3 separate regions of the Homo sapiens genome follow, and all the other regions are linked to region 1. Evidence: promoter capture Hi-C in human tissues and cell types (Jung and others, 2019). All regions are on one chromosome and are shown on one strand. The core of a region is centred on a gene start or on the middle of the fragment in contact, and the rest is flanking DNA. Distances in the headings are between cores, read along the strand shown. Region 1 holds the start of OMG (oligodendrocyte myelin glycoprotein). Region 2 overlaps ADAP2 (ArfGAP with dual PH domains 2). Region 3 has its middle 36 kb from the start of RNF135.

Region 1 (5,145 bases), core at 1,721-4,220:
ATTTTTTCATTATGTTTTTAACACTTTTCTTACATGCAAAAAACACAACCGTTAAACTTTTCTTATTAAAATGCAAAGCCTAGTGTCTTCTAGCTTTTTGAAGAGCTTTTGTCCATTATATAATCTGTCAAGTAGCCAAGAGTTCCTCAGAAGCAGGACATCATTTAGATTTAAAACAATTATGGCTTGTCTGTAAAATAATGTTGTAGCATAACCATTCATGGGATGGCAGCTACGATTTTACTTCAGTAAAATATCCTTGGATACTACCGCCATTTTATTTACCTTAAAGATTTTACCAAGGTACCCTAGAACAAAAATGGTGAGGTCATTTTGATTCTGCTAAAGTTGGTATGACTGGAAAGCCAAATGACACAGTTATGAGCATAGACCTTTTATTTTCCAGATGTTTGACAGTGTAAACATACATAAAATACATATTAAAGTTTAGATGCTTTATATTTTGTGCAATAAATTGAAGCCTTAAAACATTTCATTTTTTTTATAAAAGAAACTCATTAGTTTACTTAATTAAGACAGTAAAATAGCAGCAAGTACCAAGACATTGTGCATTTCTTTTATTTAAGACAAGTTACTTCATTTACATCAGAGTTAGAAATGTTAAGACTGGCTTTCTTGAATACTTAAATATAGCTCGAATCACTGGTTAGATATGGACATATTTTCCCAACTGTACATCAGGGAGGAGTGCTTTCATTAGTTTCAGAAAATGCAGACCCTCAGACAGCCAGCATGACCACAACATTGAGCAATAAGAGAAATGAAGCATTTACTTTCCAAGCATTTGCCACAGAAGGTAATGGAGTCTTTACATTTGTGGTTGTCTCTTCCCTCCATAAGTTAAGGGTTGTGCTTTGTTGAGGCATTTCAGAGAAATTATTTGGCATGCCACTAGTGATACTTAGGGTCATGGGTGTTGGGGATGATTTTGTTGAGCTAGTGAGGCTTGTGTTTGTGACCATTCCATCTTGGAGATGAATAGTTAGAGTTGCAGCTGCTGCTTCATGTGAATTGATAGTCTCTGTGGATGTATCTTCTGGATAGGGCACAAAAGCCTTATCAGTGCTAGTAAAGGTGGTGTCTTTGCTTAGAGTGGCACCAAACGTTGTTTCCTTTGTTCGATATTGTTTGGGTATTTTGGTCACTTTGGGTTGAGTTACCACACTCAGAGAGTTAATGGTGTCCACTGTCTGCATCCCACTTACAGTGAATAAGCTTGAGGTAAATCCAGAAGGTGTGGGATACATGTTATGTTCCTTTAAAGATGATATTTGGGTAGAACATGGAGTCCCTATCACATGGGCTTTTGTTTCCATCATCCACTTCAGTAAGTAAGTAATGTTTTGTTTGTGGTCACATGACCACCTGTTATTGTAAAGGGTTATCTCTTGCAACTGAAAGAGTTGGTCAAAAGATTGGTCTGGAATGAATGTGAACTTATTGTTGTGCAGGTAAAGATGTGTGAGATTTGTCAGGTTTATTAATGTACCTGGAAGAATTTGTGTCAAAGAATTATTAGACAGGTCCACGATATGTAGTTTGGAGGGCATGTTGGTTGGAACTGTCCAAAGTTTGTTACTACTGAGGTTGAGAACCTCGAGACTTCTTAGTGTATTTTTAATGAGGACAACCTTTTCCAGCATGTTCTTAGAAACATCCAGATATTTAAGATTCCACTGATAAGCAGTATCAGATTTGTCAAGAAGTTTAATGTTGTTGTTAGCAGCAGACATGTTCCACAGAGACCGAGGTAAGTGAGCAGGCAGGCTTTCAAGCCTGTTGTTTGAAATGTCCAGGGTCCTCAGATTGGTATATTGGGTTAACTGGTTATGCAGATCAGTAAAGTGGTTATAAGACAGGTTTAAATGTATAATATTCTCTTGCAGTCCAGATGGTAATGTAGACAAGTTTCTGCCTGAACAGTCCACATGCCTGTGCCTCTCTGTGCATATACATTGGAGAGGACAAATGCATAAAATACCAGGTGTGAGAAACAGAAGGATGAACAGGCAGAGAGACATTTTCAATATCTGATATTCCATCAAAGCCTAGAAACAAACAGATACACCCTTCTTTTAATATGCAAATACAGTTTAGGCATCTGCATGGGTCAGTTAGCATTAGGCAAAATTTTCAATAAACCTCGTTGTTGTCGAGTCCTTTTATAATTGTTCCAGTGATTAAACTAACAAAGCTCCCCTTCATTTATAGTCCAAATGCTTAATCCTTCAATTGGGCTATGTGGTAGAGAGAGACTCTCTCCCTACTCTCTCCTGCATTTTCTCCTTTATTTTCTCTCTCCCTCCCCCCTTTTCTAACCATATTCTTTCTTATTTATCTTTCTAGAGCCTTAATATGATAAAATAGCATTCTTTGCAAATAAATAGTTGCAGTTGTAGGCTATTACTATTTTTGATGATATGCTTTCTTACTCAGATGAGAAAAAATGGCTGTCGTGTCTTTTTTTTTTAATCTCTGCAGTAATGTAATTCAATGTGTGTATATAGGGTAGATTTTATTTAGATATTAAAGCAGTTCTTCGAAATTTTATCTGTATGTTTTTAGGATAAATATATCTTTGTAAAAAGCACTTGAAAAATCCAGACCAACACAGTACCTATAAACCTCACATTTTATAAAGTGATTTTTTTCTGTATATTTCAGTGCCCATTTTAAAGGAAAACAATATGTATATTTACAGAGTGACTGAATGTATAAAAAATATCCCTCAACTGACACTGCAGCAAATTTCTGGTGCATGCACTTGCTATTGAATATATATTTAATCCTAACGTTGACTTTTTCTTAAAAGAAAAAGGAAAAAGATTCCAAAGTCAGCCTTTTACTGATTTAAATAACATCTTACCGTGGTGTCGTCTTCAACATCAGCATCTCATTTTCTCTGGGAAACTTAAAGGTCGTCTTGTTCTGTAGAGTCGGAACTGTTTCTGGCTGTGGGCTGTGCTTGCCTGCTCAGCTGCATTGTGTTGCTGTGAGCTGAAGCTCTGCAACCACCTGATCAGTACCACATAGGAGGACTGCAGAGCTGTCGCTGGTGCTGACTCAAATTTATGGCAAGAGGTGCACACGCAACAAAATGGACAATTTTTTAAAAAATTTGTGGCATCAAGCGTACCTATATATCTGATTTGCTATAGGATGGGATACCTTATGCATGAGAGTTGGCCCTTACTCCTTTCTATGTATTTGTCTGAGATTGGGTTCCATATTTTAACATTTGCCTCATTAAGAATCTGTGAATTTTTAAAATACCTCTACTCTTTATCCTTTTTACATGTTGAAAATAAATTTGACCTTCCTCATGGATAGTTTTCTATGATATTAGTCCCACTATTTTTTAACTCCTGCCTTTTTATATTCCTTTCTAAAATTGTATAATTTTCATGTCACTTTTTTAATATTATAAAAAATCTGTTTTATGACTTTTATGTCTTCCCCCAACATGGTGATTATTATGTTTAATCAGCTTTTCAAATTTATCAACCACTTAAGTGTTCCGTCTTCCCTTTTAGGATGTATAGAAGTACTGAAATACGATTATTTTTTCTTTATCTTTCTGATACAATGATCATTTGACCAAGGCTACACACAAGCCAGGATACATTTGGAAATTAGCATCTTATACTTCAGATTATCAGTTCCTATGTAAAATAAACATGTTTTATTTTATATATTTGGAGTTAAAGTTTTTTTTCTTTATGCAACCTTGGGTGGTAAGTGGATATGAGTATTGTTTTTTCCAAAGACATTTTTGGTGCTGTATGAATGACCATTTATTTGATTTTATGTTTTAAGAATAGCAGTATCAATTTAGGTGATTTCAGAGTGTTGCACATTTCATCTTTCTGGGAAAGTAGTTTATAGTTTTAAAATTACATGAAATGATATAAAAGGAAAATTTTTCATCATGAGTTTTATAAAGTGAGATCAGATTTATGATAAATTTTGCTCCACTCTTCAGTGGACTGCTTGTGTAAATCTGTTAAAACACAAATCTGATTTCCAGAATGGCAAGTTTAAAGAAAGCAAATAAAGTTACGGTATTTTCGTTACCAAGTGGCACCATTTAAAAACGAGTAATATTTAGCATGTTATGTGTAAGGAAAGTCTCTTTATGCCTTGTTACTAAATCGTTTGTTTTTCTCTAAATTATATTAGCATTATTTAGATTATACCACAAATAGAATTTGTTGTATTAAAATTTGAAGTTTATTTTCTTACAAGAGAAACTATACTCTAGGAGCCACCTTTTGTATAAAACTAATGTTCCTCGAAAAGTATCTGCATTTTAAGAGTCCGCAACATAGAAGTTTATTGTTGATTGGGTGCTTTATTGCCACTTTACTTTGAGGGTTCAGTTGAACTCTCAATTGGATTCTTACTGTGGATTTAGGAAACCAGCCATCAATCATAGTGCTTAAAATAATGTGTTAAAAATACTACATTCAGCAATATTGTGGAAATAGGGAATGCATTGACATTTAGAGTTCTATTTAAGCTCATATATACACTGCTGCACTTCTAAAGATGTGACTGAGGGTCAATTTACCGACCACTTAAATCTCTTAATTTTAGGAAACCTCATTAAGTCAGTGTAGAAGTAGAGTTATGCATTTTCATTACACTTAACAGTACTTTTGTTTGAAAGAAAAGACATGTTACTTCATTAATGGATTCAAATGAATTTGGGTTTAGGCTGTATCAAGTTTAGTTTCTGTTGTATATAATAGAAAATTCCAGTGCAATAGTAGTGGCAATGTTTCTCATTTCAAGTTTGGGACATACCAAATTGCTTCATATTATTCAAAGATTATTGTAAAATTCTCAAAAAGAAAAAGGGAGATCATTTCAATATATTTGAATTCTAACAATCTCTTACACTGGGTGCAGCACACCAGCATGGCACATGTATACATATGTAACTAACCTGCACGTTGTGCACATGTACCCTAAAACTTAAAGTATAATAAAAATAAATAAATAAATAAAAGAAATTCTCATGAAATAAAATAATACTGTATTACTGTTACTCAAAAAAAATATTTTTTAGAGGCATAAGTATGTGTTACAACTTATTTTAAATATTATTCAGACTCATTACAT
Region 2 (5,145 bases), core at 1,488-3,987, 350 kb before region 1:
TATTTAATAGTCCAGGAAATCTGCCCAGTCAGAGATGAATAAGCCAATATAACAGAATAAGCTGGGTCAGGTCCTGAGCAGGGTCACATAACTAGGCAGGGGACAGAGATGCTGAGTGGGGGTGGATGAAGGTGGGTGCTGACATTTTGTGACCATCTATTAACTCCCCTGGGCACTGCTTTTGGTGATTGCTGTCCATCATTTCTTAATCCTGAAAACAAGCCCCACATTATTGAGTCACGGACATGTTAGTAACTTGCTCAGGGTCACAGCCCTGCACCCACTTTACCTGCCATGTGCCTCTGCTGTAGGAAGGACACTTGGCAGCAGGAGCCAGGAACCAGATGCAGGGACTAGACCTTCCTAAGGGGCCCCTAGCACCATGGCCCTAGCCCCCTCTCCATGCCAATCACTGCCATAAGGACTTTTACTGAGGCACCCAAGGTCTCTGGCACTTAGGATACCCAGCTCCCTCCTATCTGCCCAGTATGGTGCATCTGACAACCTGGGTCTGGCCATTCTTCTCTTTTGCTTGATGCCCCAGCCTGTCTGTTAGATGGGCATAAATGAGGGCTCCAGATTCCTGCCTGCAGGAGTCAGGGGGTGATTTAAAAGCTAAATGGACAGGCATAAGGGATGGGGAGGGGGCTGTGGCAAACAGGAAAACCTGCATGGAGGATTGAAACAAACAAAACTTTAGGAGCAAACAGACATGTATGCAGGTTGGATTTGGCACCAGGATCACCAGATTATGACTGGAGAGACCTTCCAAGGTGAAGGCCTAGGTGTGTCTTTTCTGGACTGGCCCCATTCCCTTAGTGTCTGAGACCTAAGGTTTTTTTTTGAGACAGAGTCTCGCTCTGTCACCCAGACTGGAGTGCAGTGGTGCAATCTCGGCTCACTGCAACCTCCACCTCCCAGGTTAAAGCAATTCTCCAGCCTCAGCCTCTTGAGTAGCTGAGATTACAGGCATGTACCACCATACCCGGCTAATTTTGTATTTTTAGTAGAGATGGGGTTTCACCATGTTGGTCAGGCTGGTCTCAAATTCCTGACCTCAGGTGATCCACCCGCCTCGGCCTCCCAGAGTGTTGGGATTACAGGCGTGAGCCACTGCACCTGGCCAGAGGGTCCTTAATGAACCCCAGGACAAGAGAGCACAGATCCCTGGAATACTAGGCCTGTGTGCTTCGCCTATGAGAGAGAAAGAGAAATGGTTTCATTCCTTTTAAACCATATTCAGATGACTTTCTCAATCACCACATTATATCAAAGTCACAAACTACCACTATTTGAACAAGCCTTTAGCCTCCCAATTCCAAATTCCTGGGAGAAGGAATCTGATAAGCCCAGTCCAGCCTCTGTGTTGCTCCAGGCCTGGTCCAGTTGCTGTGGTTAAGCAGGGGCAGGATCACAGCAGTAAATGGGGCTGCAACTGGGGTTGGGTGAAGATAGGCGGGGTAGTTCTCACAGAAGCAGGGCTTGGGCTGAGCAAGCACCAAAAATCTATCTATTACAACATCAAAACTAACCTGCGGGATAAGTGGAATGTTTTGCGTAAAAGGTGTGTGTGGGATGGAGCGGGCTAAGCAGAATGTCCCGAGAGGAAGGAACAGTAGGTGTTGGGAGAATTGCAAATAGTTTTGCATGGAAGGAGCTCAGACAGCAAAATCATAGTAAAGAACTTAAGACTTTTTTTTCTGAGGGTAGTAGACAGGACTCCAAGCCAGACTGATTAGATTTGTAATTAGAAAATCACTCTGGCTACAGGCTGGGCGCTGTGGCTCACGCCTGTAATCCCAGCACTTTGGGAGGCCGAGGCGGGCAGATCACGAGACCATCCTGGCTAACGTGGTGAAACCCTGTCACTACTAAAAATACAAAAAAAAAAAAAATTAGCCGTGTGGTGGTGGGCGCCTGTAGTCCCAGCTACTCGGGAGGCTGAGGCAGGAGAATGGTGTGAACCCAGAAGGCGGAGGTTGCAGTGAGCCAAGATCGCACCACTGCACACTCTAGCCTCGGCGACAGCATGAGACTCCATCTAAAAAAAAATAAATAAAGGAAAATCACTCAGGCTGCCATGAGAGGGCCAGTCAGAGAGCAGCTGATCAAGGCCAGCTAGATACATGGTTGTCTATGTGGGAGATGAAGGTGGCCCAGGCTGCTGAGGGACATGTTCTCTCAGAGTGACAGCAGAAGGGGCCAAGCCAGCTTTGGCCTAAGTTGCCATGAGCATCCTCATTAGAGGAGCATCCCCAGGCATAACTGCTCCCCACCCAAATGCCAATCTTTGACATCTGAGGACAATGATTTCCTAGAGCCTTGCTCCTTAGAGTGCATTCCACTGACTAGCAGCATCATATCACCTGAGAGCGTGTTAGGAATGCAGAGTCTTGGGCCCCATTCCAAACCTACTGGATATGCCTCTGCATTTTAACAAGAGCCTCAGGTGATTTTGCACGCATTAGAAGGTGAAAAGCACTGTCCGAGGCCATTGCAGAACTCCCATGCAGTTCACTCAATCCTTTTCCAGGGCTCTGGGGTTATCCCTGTCAGAGGCTTCCTGCTTGCCCGGGTTAGCCCACGAGGCTCTGACACAATCCTCCCTGGATGCCCCTGAGCCGAGCTGTGGGGTGTGTGCAGGTGCTGAATATATGTGCCCCACACCCAATGCCCAGCTAGCTTCCCGCCACCAGAGGTAGCTTCCCACCCACCCCATCTCACTGCTGTGTGTGTGTCCTGTGCACTTCTCTCCGCAGGAGATAGTGGACTGGTTCAATGCCCTCCGTGCAGCCCGTCTGCAGTACCTAAAAATGGCCTTTCCTGAACTCCCAGAGTCTGAGGTGAGCTAAATGCGGACCCCAATTTCTGAATCTCCTCTTGGCCATCTCCTTCTTTCCCTGTCTGTTGACCTCGAAGACACTCAGAAGCCAGACTAGGGCTGGGCGCGGTGGCTCACGCCTGTAATCCCAGCACTTTGGGAGGCTGAGGCGGGCGGATCACAAGGTCAGGAGATCGAGACCATCCTGGCTAGCACGGTGAAACCCCGTCTCTACTAAAAATACAAAAAAATTAGCCAGGTGTGGTGGCAGGCGCCTGTAGTCCCAGCTACTTGGGAGGCTGAGGCAGGAGAATGGTGTTAACCCGGGAGGCGGAGCTTGCAGTGAGCCCAGATGGCGCCGCTGCACTCCAGCCTGGGTGACAGAGTGAGACTCCGTCTCAAAAAAAAAAAAAAAAAAAAAGAAGAAGAAGCCAGACTAGTTTTGTTTGCAGGCAAGACCTCGAGGTTGAGGGCTGGGCTGCTCAGAGGGAAGCCCAAGGCATTCTCCAGGGGAGCCTGCGGGGGTTACAGCCTCACATACGACAAGGCGGCCTCCCAAAAGCTGGTCAGTGTCTCCCCTTCAGAAGAGTGTCAAGGGGCTCAGCAATTGGTCATCTCTTTCTGAACCCTTCTCCCTCTAAAATGTACAAATGATCCCTAACATACTGCTTACAGAGTGCTTTGAGCCCATTTTGTCTTGTGAAATGGCAGCCAGGCAGGGGTGATTATTTCCATTTCACTGATGAGTTATACAGTCCCAGGAAGGGCAGGTGAATAACCAAAGGTGTGCTTCCCTTTCTAAAATCCCCTCTTTGCCCTGTGATGCTCTGGGCTTGGGAAAGCCTGGGATCCTCTCCATTACAGTTGTAACAGGAGCAGGTATGCCCTTCATGGCCAACATCATGGGGAGCCGAGAACTTCATTTTGATTGTCTCCAGACTTCTGGGGCCTTCATCTCCCTATCTCAGGCTGGGCCAGGGAGACCCGCATGGTGTAGGGCAGAGGATGCTGTCTCGAGCCAGGAAGCCTGGGCTCTCAGGGATGCTCTATTGCTCACTTGCTGTGTGACCCCTGCAGGTCCTGGCACCCCTCTGAGCTTCTATTTCCATATGGGTAAGATGGCGGTTAGTCCAGGTCATCTTCAGGGTCCCTTCCGCCTCTGAGATTCTATGCTCTGGTCCTCTTCAAGAGGCTCCCCTCCAAGAGGATTTTATAAGTGATGGGGCTGGAAAACCATTTTAATGCTGGGATTTTCTTAATCTCAACCATTAGAGTTTCCTTGAAAGCCTAAATGCTCCTTAATTCCAAGGTTTGTAGGGAGCCAGTTGTCTGGAATAGGGTCCCCTCCAGGCCCAGGGATGTGCTGAGATGGCAGCTCTCTGGGAGCAATTCCAGCAAGGCCCGAGTCAGAGCCCTTGAGTCAGTCTGCTGAGTTTGCACCCAGAACTGGTTAATGCTGGCTCCCATGGGCGGGGAGTGGAGACTGCTGACTGCTGACTATGAGGAGGGAGGACAAAGTGCAGATGCTCAGCCTTATTTAATCTGGGCAAGCTGCCCATCTTTGCTGACATGTGTAAAGGAAATTGCTCTTTGGTCAACATCCTCAATGTTCCCCTGCCTCTCTCATCCACTGTCGGTACCTGATATCCATCCCGTGTCTTTCCTCCCATTTAATGTCTGTGTATGGTGTGAGGTTCTGAGCAATCACCAGGCCTGGCTCAAGCTTTAGGGGTCCACATGTTGGAAACCCAGGGCATCCCAGTGGGGTCTGTGGTCCTGTAATAAATGCATATGGTCTCTTGGACTTCAGAGAAAGTAGGTTTTGTCGCCATGGTGACAGATGAGTGCATCGAGGCTCAGAGAGGTGAGGTGACTTGCCTAGGTGATAGTACCTACTTTCTAGGGCTATTGTGAGACTCCAGCGAGCCAAGGCATCAGAAGTACAGGAAGCAGTGCTCCAGCCATGTGACTTTCCTTTTTTTCCCAATGGTTTCCCTAGGCCTCTGCTTGCTCTGTGCTGGCTCAAATTCCGAATATTGAGCAGTTCGGGACTCCATCTGTTTTCTCCAAATGGAACAATTAAAGCCTAGTGAATGTATTTTAAGAGAAGGGGAGTAGTACAGTTTATATCTTGTTTCTTACATTAAAAATTTTTTTTTAATTTTTTATAGAGATGATGTCTCACTTATGTTGCCCAGGCTGGTCTCGAACTTCTGGCCTCAAGCAATCCTCCTACCTCGGCCTCCCAAAGTGCTGGGATTACAGGTGTGAGCCACTGCATCTGACCAATATTTTCTTTTCTTTTCTTTTTTTTTTTTTTTTTT
Region 3 (5,145 bases), core at 1,510-4,009, 290 kb before region 1:
GGCATGTGCCTGCAGTCCCAGATACTCTGGAGGCTAAGGCTGGAGGACTGCATGGGCCCAGGAGGTCAAGGCTGCAGTGAGCTGTGATCATGCCACTGCACCCCAGCCTGGGTGACAGAGCAAGGCCATCTAAAAGAAAGAGAGAGAGAGAGAGAGAGAGGAGGGAGGAAGAGAGAGAGCAAGAGAGAGAGAGAGAGAGACAGGGGGGAAAAGAGAAAAGAAAAGAAAAGAAAAAGAAAGGAAAAAAATGAAAAAAGAAAAGAAAGCAAATTTATTTCTCATAGTTCTGGAGGCTGGGAAGTCCAAAATCAAGGTGCTGGCAGATTTGGTGTCTAGTGAGGGAGCTCTCAGGAGTTCCCCCGCCGTTTTTTTTTTTTTTTTTTTTTTTTTGAGACAGAGTCTTGCTCTATCACCCAGGCTGGGGTGAAGTGGTGTGACCTGGGCTCACTGCAACCTCTGCCTCCCAGGTTCAAGCAATTCTTCCTGCCTCAGCCTCTTGAGTAGCTGGGATTATAGGTGCCTGCCACCATACCCAGCTAATTTTTGTATTTATTAGTACAGACGGGGTTTCACCATGTTGGCTAGGCTAGGCTGGTCTTGAACTCCTGACCTCTGGTGATCCACCCAACTCAGCCTCCCAAAGTGCTAGGATTACAGTCCCTTTTATAAGGTCACTAATCTCATTCATGAAGGCTCTATCTTCATGACCCAATCACCTCCCAGGACTGTCATATTGGGAGTTAGGATTTCAGTACATGAATTTTGGGAGAACACAAACATTCAGTCTATAGCGGAGACACACTGCTTCATAGGAGAGCACGAGGAACTCCTTTGGCAGCTTTCTGCGCTATCTGGGGACATTGTTCTCAAAAATTTGTTTTCTATCAGGCCTTGTCTCTCAAGTGTTTTTTTTTCCTGGGGGTTGAGGAGAATGGAGTGTTCTCATCAGTGCCATGGGCTGCTTCTGTCCTTCTCTCTTCTCTTCCACCTCACACACTCTGGTGAAGCAGCTGCTGGATAGTTCTGTTGAACCCACTATTGGGTCCGGGGCTTTGGGTTCCTGGAAGACCACCTGCTAAGCAGGAAGCCACCATCTTGTTAGGCTTGAGGAAACCTCTAAAATAGTTATATCTATCTGTCCCTTGCTTCTCTCTCAAATACTATTTTGTTTTGTTTTGTTTTTGAGACAGTCTCGCTCTATCACCCAGGCTGGAGTGCAGTGGCACAATCTCGGCTCACTGCAACCTCCGTCTCCCAGGTTCAAGTGATTCTCCTGCCTCAGCCTCCTGAGTAGCTGGGATTATGGGCATGTGCCATCATGCCTGGCTAATTTTTTACATTTTTAGTAGAGACCAGGTTTCCCAGTGTTGGCCAGGCTGGTCTTGAACTCCTGACCTCAAGTGATCCACCCGCCTTGGCCTCCCAGAGTGCTGGGATTACAGGGGTGAGCCACTGTGCTGGCCTTATTTTTATTTTATTTTATGTTATTATTATTATTATTTTGAGATGGAGTTTTGCTTTGTCCCTCAGGCTGGAGTGCAATGGCGCAATCTCAGCTCACTGCAACCTCCGCCTCCCGGGTTCACGCCATTCTCCTGCCTCAGCTTCCCGAGTAGCTGGGACTATAGGCACCACCACCATGCCCGGCTAATTTTTTTTTTTTTTTTTTTAGTAGAGACAGAGTTTCACCATGTTAGCCAGGATGGTCACTATCTCCTGTCCCCGTGATCCGCCTGCCTCGGCCTCCCATAGTGCTGAGATTTACAGGCGTGACCCACTGTGCCTGGCCGCTTGCTTCCTATTTTCTATGAACTCATGGCACTACTGTTGAACCTTTCGAGGTTCCTCTCATGGCCCTGGAACCTGCTTTCCACTGTAAAACATTCTTTCATTCTTTCTTCCGAAATTGCATCCTTATCTTAGCTAAGCAAAACTATTTTCTGAATAAACTATCTCCCTGATGGTTTTTCAGATAGAGACTGCTGTAGGAGAAGAAAGATTTCCATGTTCTCCTAGCTCCTCACATACTCAATGACTACTTTCCTGTTACTCCAAACCCTTCCTCCTCACAAGCTAATATTCTACATTCTATTTGTCAGTTTCTGTCATTAATAGCTCTCTAGGCTGTTCTCCCACATTCAATGACTATCTACAGCCAACCTATCCAAAACCTGAGATCACACCAAGGTATGGTGTGGCCACGTTCCATTCAACAGAGTTCTTTGCTTTCTACTCCAAGACTTGCACTTGTCCATACCCCTAACTGTGCTGCTCCATACTAGAAGTCTTAACATTGTAATGCTCCACTCTTGGCCGTGGCTTCCTCTTTTAGTTCCTTTTCTCTTCGTGTTTCTACTTAGGGACTCATCAAGACATCTACACTCTCTCCCTTTCTTTCTTTCTTTCTTTCTTTCTTTCTTTCTTTCTTTCTTTCTTTCTTTCTTTCTTTCCTTTCTTTCTCTTTCTTTCCTCTCTTTCTTTCTTTCCCTTTCTTCTCTTTCTTTCTCTTTCTTTTCCTTCTTTTCTCTCTCTCTCTCTCCCTCTCTCTCTCTCTCTCCTCTTTCTTTCTTTCTTATGCATATATCTCACCTAAGACATCCAGACTTGAACTTTTCACATCTTCTCCCAATTTATCAGTTGCTCTCTTTGCTTCCTGCTTCCATTTCCTAGCTAGCCCAAGTCCCACAGTGTAGCTCATGGACTTCTTTCTTCAGCACTTTGAACTTTCTTACTTCCTCATTCCTCTGGGACACAAAACTTGTCTATTGGTCATCGAAATTCTTTGACCCAACATATTTCATAGTAATGGTAACATCAATCCCAGCCTACAACTTTTTTATTTATTTATTTATTTTGAGACGGAGTCTCGCTGTGTTGCCCAGGCTGGAGTGCAGTGGCGCAATCTCGGCTCACTGCAAGCTCCGCCTCCCGGGCTCACGCCATTCTCCTGCCTCAGCCTCCGGAGTAGCTGGGACTACAGGCGCCCACCACCACGCCTGGAGAATTTTTTTTTTTTTTTTTTTTTTTTTTTTTTTAGTGGAGACGGGGTTTCACCGTGTTAGCCAGGATGGTCTCGATCTCCTGACCTTGTGATCCACCCGCCTTGGCCTCCCAAAGTGCTGGGATTACAGGCGTGAGCCACTGCACCCGGCCAAGCTTTACAACTTTATTTTTAGGGACAGGGTCTCACTTTTTTGCCCACTACTGCAGCTTCCAGGAGAAAAAGTTATTCGCCTCTGCCGTGGAATATTCTATAGCCTAATCCACGTGAGCAAAAGACACAACTCTACCAAGATATAAAATGTGTACTACATATACAGTCATGTGAGCACTAGGCTGTGACCTCGAATGCCAACAACTATGGCCAAATTACTGACAGACATAAGCCTGAGAACTAAGCCAGACACTCAACAGAAACAAGCCTCCCTTTTCAGAGACATTTTCTAAAACCATAAAAATAAGAGACAAAAATTAGGACATATTCAGGTAACAAGAGCTTCCTTCCCCCAGATAATTTCTGTTGTATAAAACCCAGAGATTAAAAACAACGATATTGGATTAGAAAAAAAAAAAAAAAAACCTTAGTCTTTCAATAAAAAGAAGAATGGGACAAATTTAACCCAAAACACATCATCATCATTTTTCTTGAAAATACGATAGTTCCCTTTTATCTGAGAGGGATCCATTCTGAGACCCCCCCCAGTGGATACGCTGAAACCATGGACAACACCAAACTTTATATATACTATGTTTTGTTCTGTACATACATACTCATGGTAAAGTTTAATTTATAAACTAGGCACAGAAAAAGATTAATACCAGAACAATTATAACATACTCTAATAGAAGTTACATGAACGTAGTCTCTTTTCTCTAAAAATATCTTATTGTACTGTACCACTGGTAACTCAAACTGCGGATAAGGGGGGACTGTTGTACAACAGTCTCACCATTTGCCGGTATTTCCGAATCATTTTTAGCTTGTCTTCTCCTCCCTTGTTCCTTCTTTCTGTTCAAGGCTGCTGATTATTCTCCAGGAGGCTCTTCTAGCTCCAATCACATTCTTATATGTAACAGATAGGAGGTTTCTTTCTTCAGCTGTCAGCTCCACATCCATCCCTGCTAATTTCTTCACTGACTCCACCATTTCTATAAGGGAAAAGCAAAATCCCGGGTCCCTCAGACAAAAGGGCGGGTGGAGGAGGAGAAGCCGAGAGTCCTGCTCCGGCGCCGCCGGAGCACCGCCTGCCTCAGCCGACCAGCGCCGTCGACTACTGGGCCTAGCCCAGACGAGAGGAGGGAAAGGCCGCAGAGGCCGCGAGGATGCTGCGGAGGCGCGGGCGGCCGGCTGCCGCCTAGTTGTGCAGCCCAGACCAAGGAAAGAGAAGTGGGAGGAGCGGGGAGCTCGGCGTCCCGCGTCCTCCGCGGCTCAGGACGACTACGCTCGGCACGTCCGGGACCCTCCGGCCGTGGCGGTTGCAGCGCCAAAAGCTCGGGCCTCAGCCCCTGACGCTGTGGTGACTCCGCCGCGCCTCGCCGTCGCCCCTGTCCCCGTCCTGCCCGCCGCCTCCGCCGCTGGGGACATGTCCAACCCCGGAAGCCGGAGGAACGGGCCCGTCAAGCTGCACCTGACAGGTGAGGGGGAGCGCCGGGCCGGGCTGGGCAGCCGCCGGGTGGGCGAGCTGGCGGGGGGTGCCTGTTGACTTGGGAAGGGCCAGGATCGCGATCAATGGTGAGTTGGGGGTTGGAGGAATGGGAAGGCCTAGTTCAGGGAGAGTAATTGGAAAACCACTCGCTCCGGTTTGGACATTCTTTAAAAAGCCGAGGATGACTTGGGGAGGGGGGGTGGTCTTTTGTGGAGGGGAGGTTACATCGGTTCGCATCGCAGGCGGATTTCAGGTCCGAAAGTCTTGGTCAAGGAGCCCGATGCTGCCTCTCGGGGCTCGGGGAGGAGCCCCTGGGCTACCGCCCAGGTGGGATCGTGAAGGGGATGAAGAGCTCTCGTGGCGAGGATTATTGAATCCGGTTGCTGACTGCGCGCAACTTTAAGGAGTGTTTACTCCTTAAAGATGGAGCGCTTAACGGAAGTGTGTGCGTGTGTGTTCCCGGGTTGTTACCTTGCACACCTACTTATGCCCGCGTGCA

What was found. The method cuts DNA at HindIII sites, captures the fragments that hold promoters and counts their contacts. A contact is called where the count stands out against the background at its distance.
Region 2: a contact is called between a fragment that was not itself captured here and the fragment with the promoter of OMG in region 1, in 1 of the 25 tissues and cell types used here (lymphoblastoid cells).
Region 3: a fragment that was not itself captured here is called in contact with the fragment with the promoter of OMG in region 1 in 1 of the 25 tissues and cell types used here (dorsolateral prefrontal cortex).

Annotation. Positions count from the first base shown.
Region 1 is chr17:31,294,269-31,299,413 of GRCh38, forward strand. It overlaps OMG (oligodendrocyte myelin glycoprotein), which reads right to left and starts at 2,971. Exons shown (of 2, transcript NM_002544.5): 1 at 2,888-2,971; 2 at 379-2,069. The coding sequence starts at 2,063. The coding sequence ends at 741. The region is part of intron 36 of NF1 (neurofibromin 1); the gene reads left to right. The HindIII fragment of the contact is 15,224 bases long and covers 249-5,145 here.
Region 2 is chr17:30,946,528-30,951,672 of GRCh38, forward strand. ADAP2 (ArfGAP with dual PH domains 2) reads left to right here. Exons shown (of 11, transcript NM_018404.3): 7 at 2,760-2,843. Among named protein-coding and RNA genes, the nearest start is that of RNF135, 22 kb to the right of the region's middle. The HindIII fragment of the contact is 6,000 bases long and covers 1-5,145 here.
Region 3 is chr17:31,004,169-31,009,313 of GRCh38, forward strand. It overlaps the pseudogene LOC107984974. Among named protein-coding and RNA genes, the nearest start is that of RNF135, 36 kb to the left of the region's middle. RefSeq lists an enhancer at 4,105-4,606 and a silencer at 4,651-4,700. The HindIII fragment of the contact is 7,448 bases long and covers 1-5,145 here.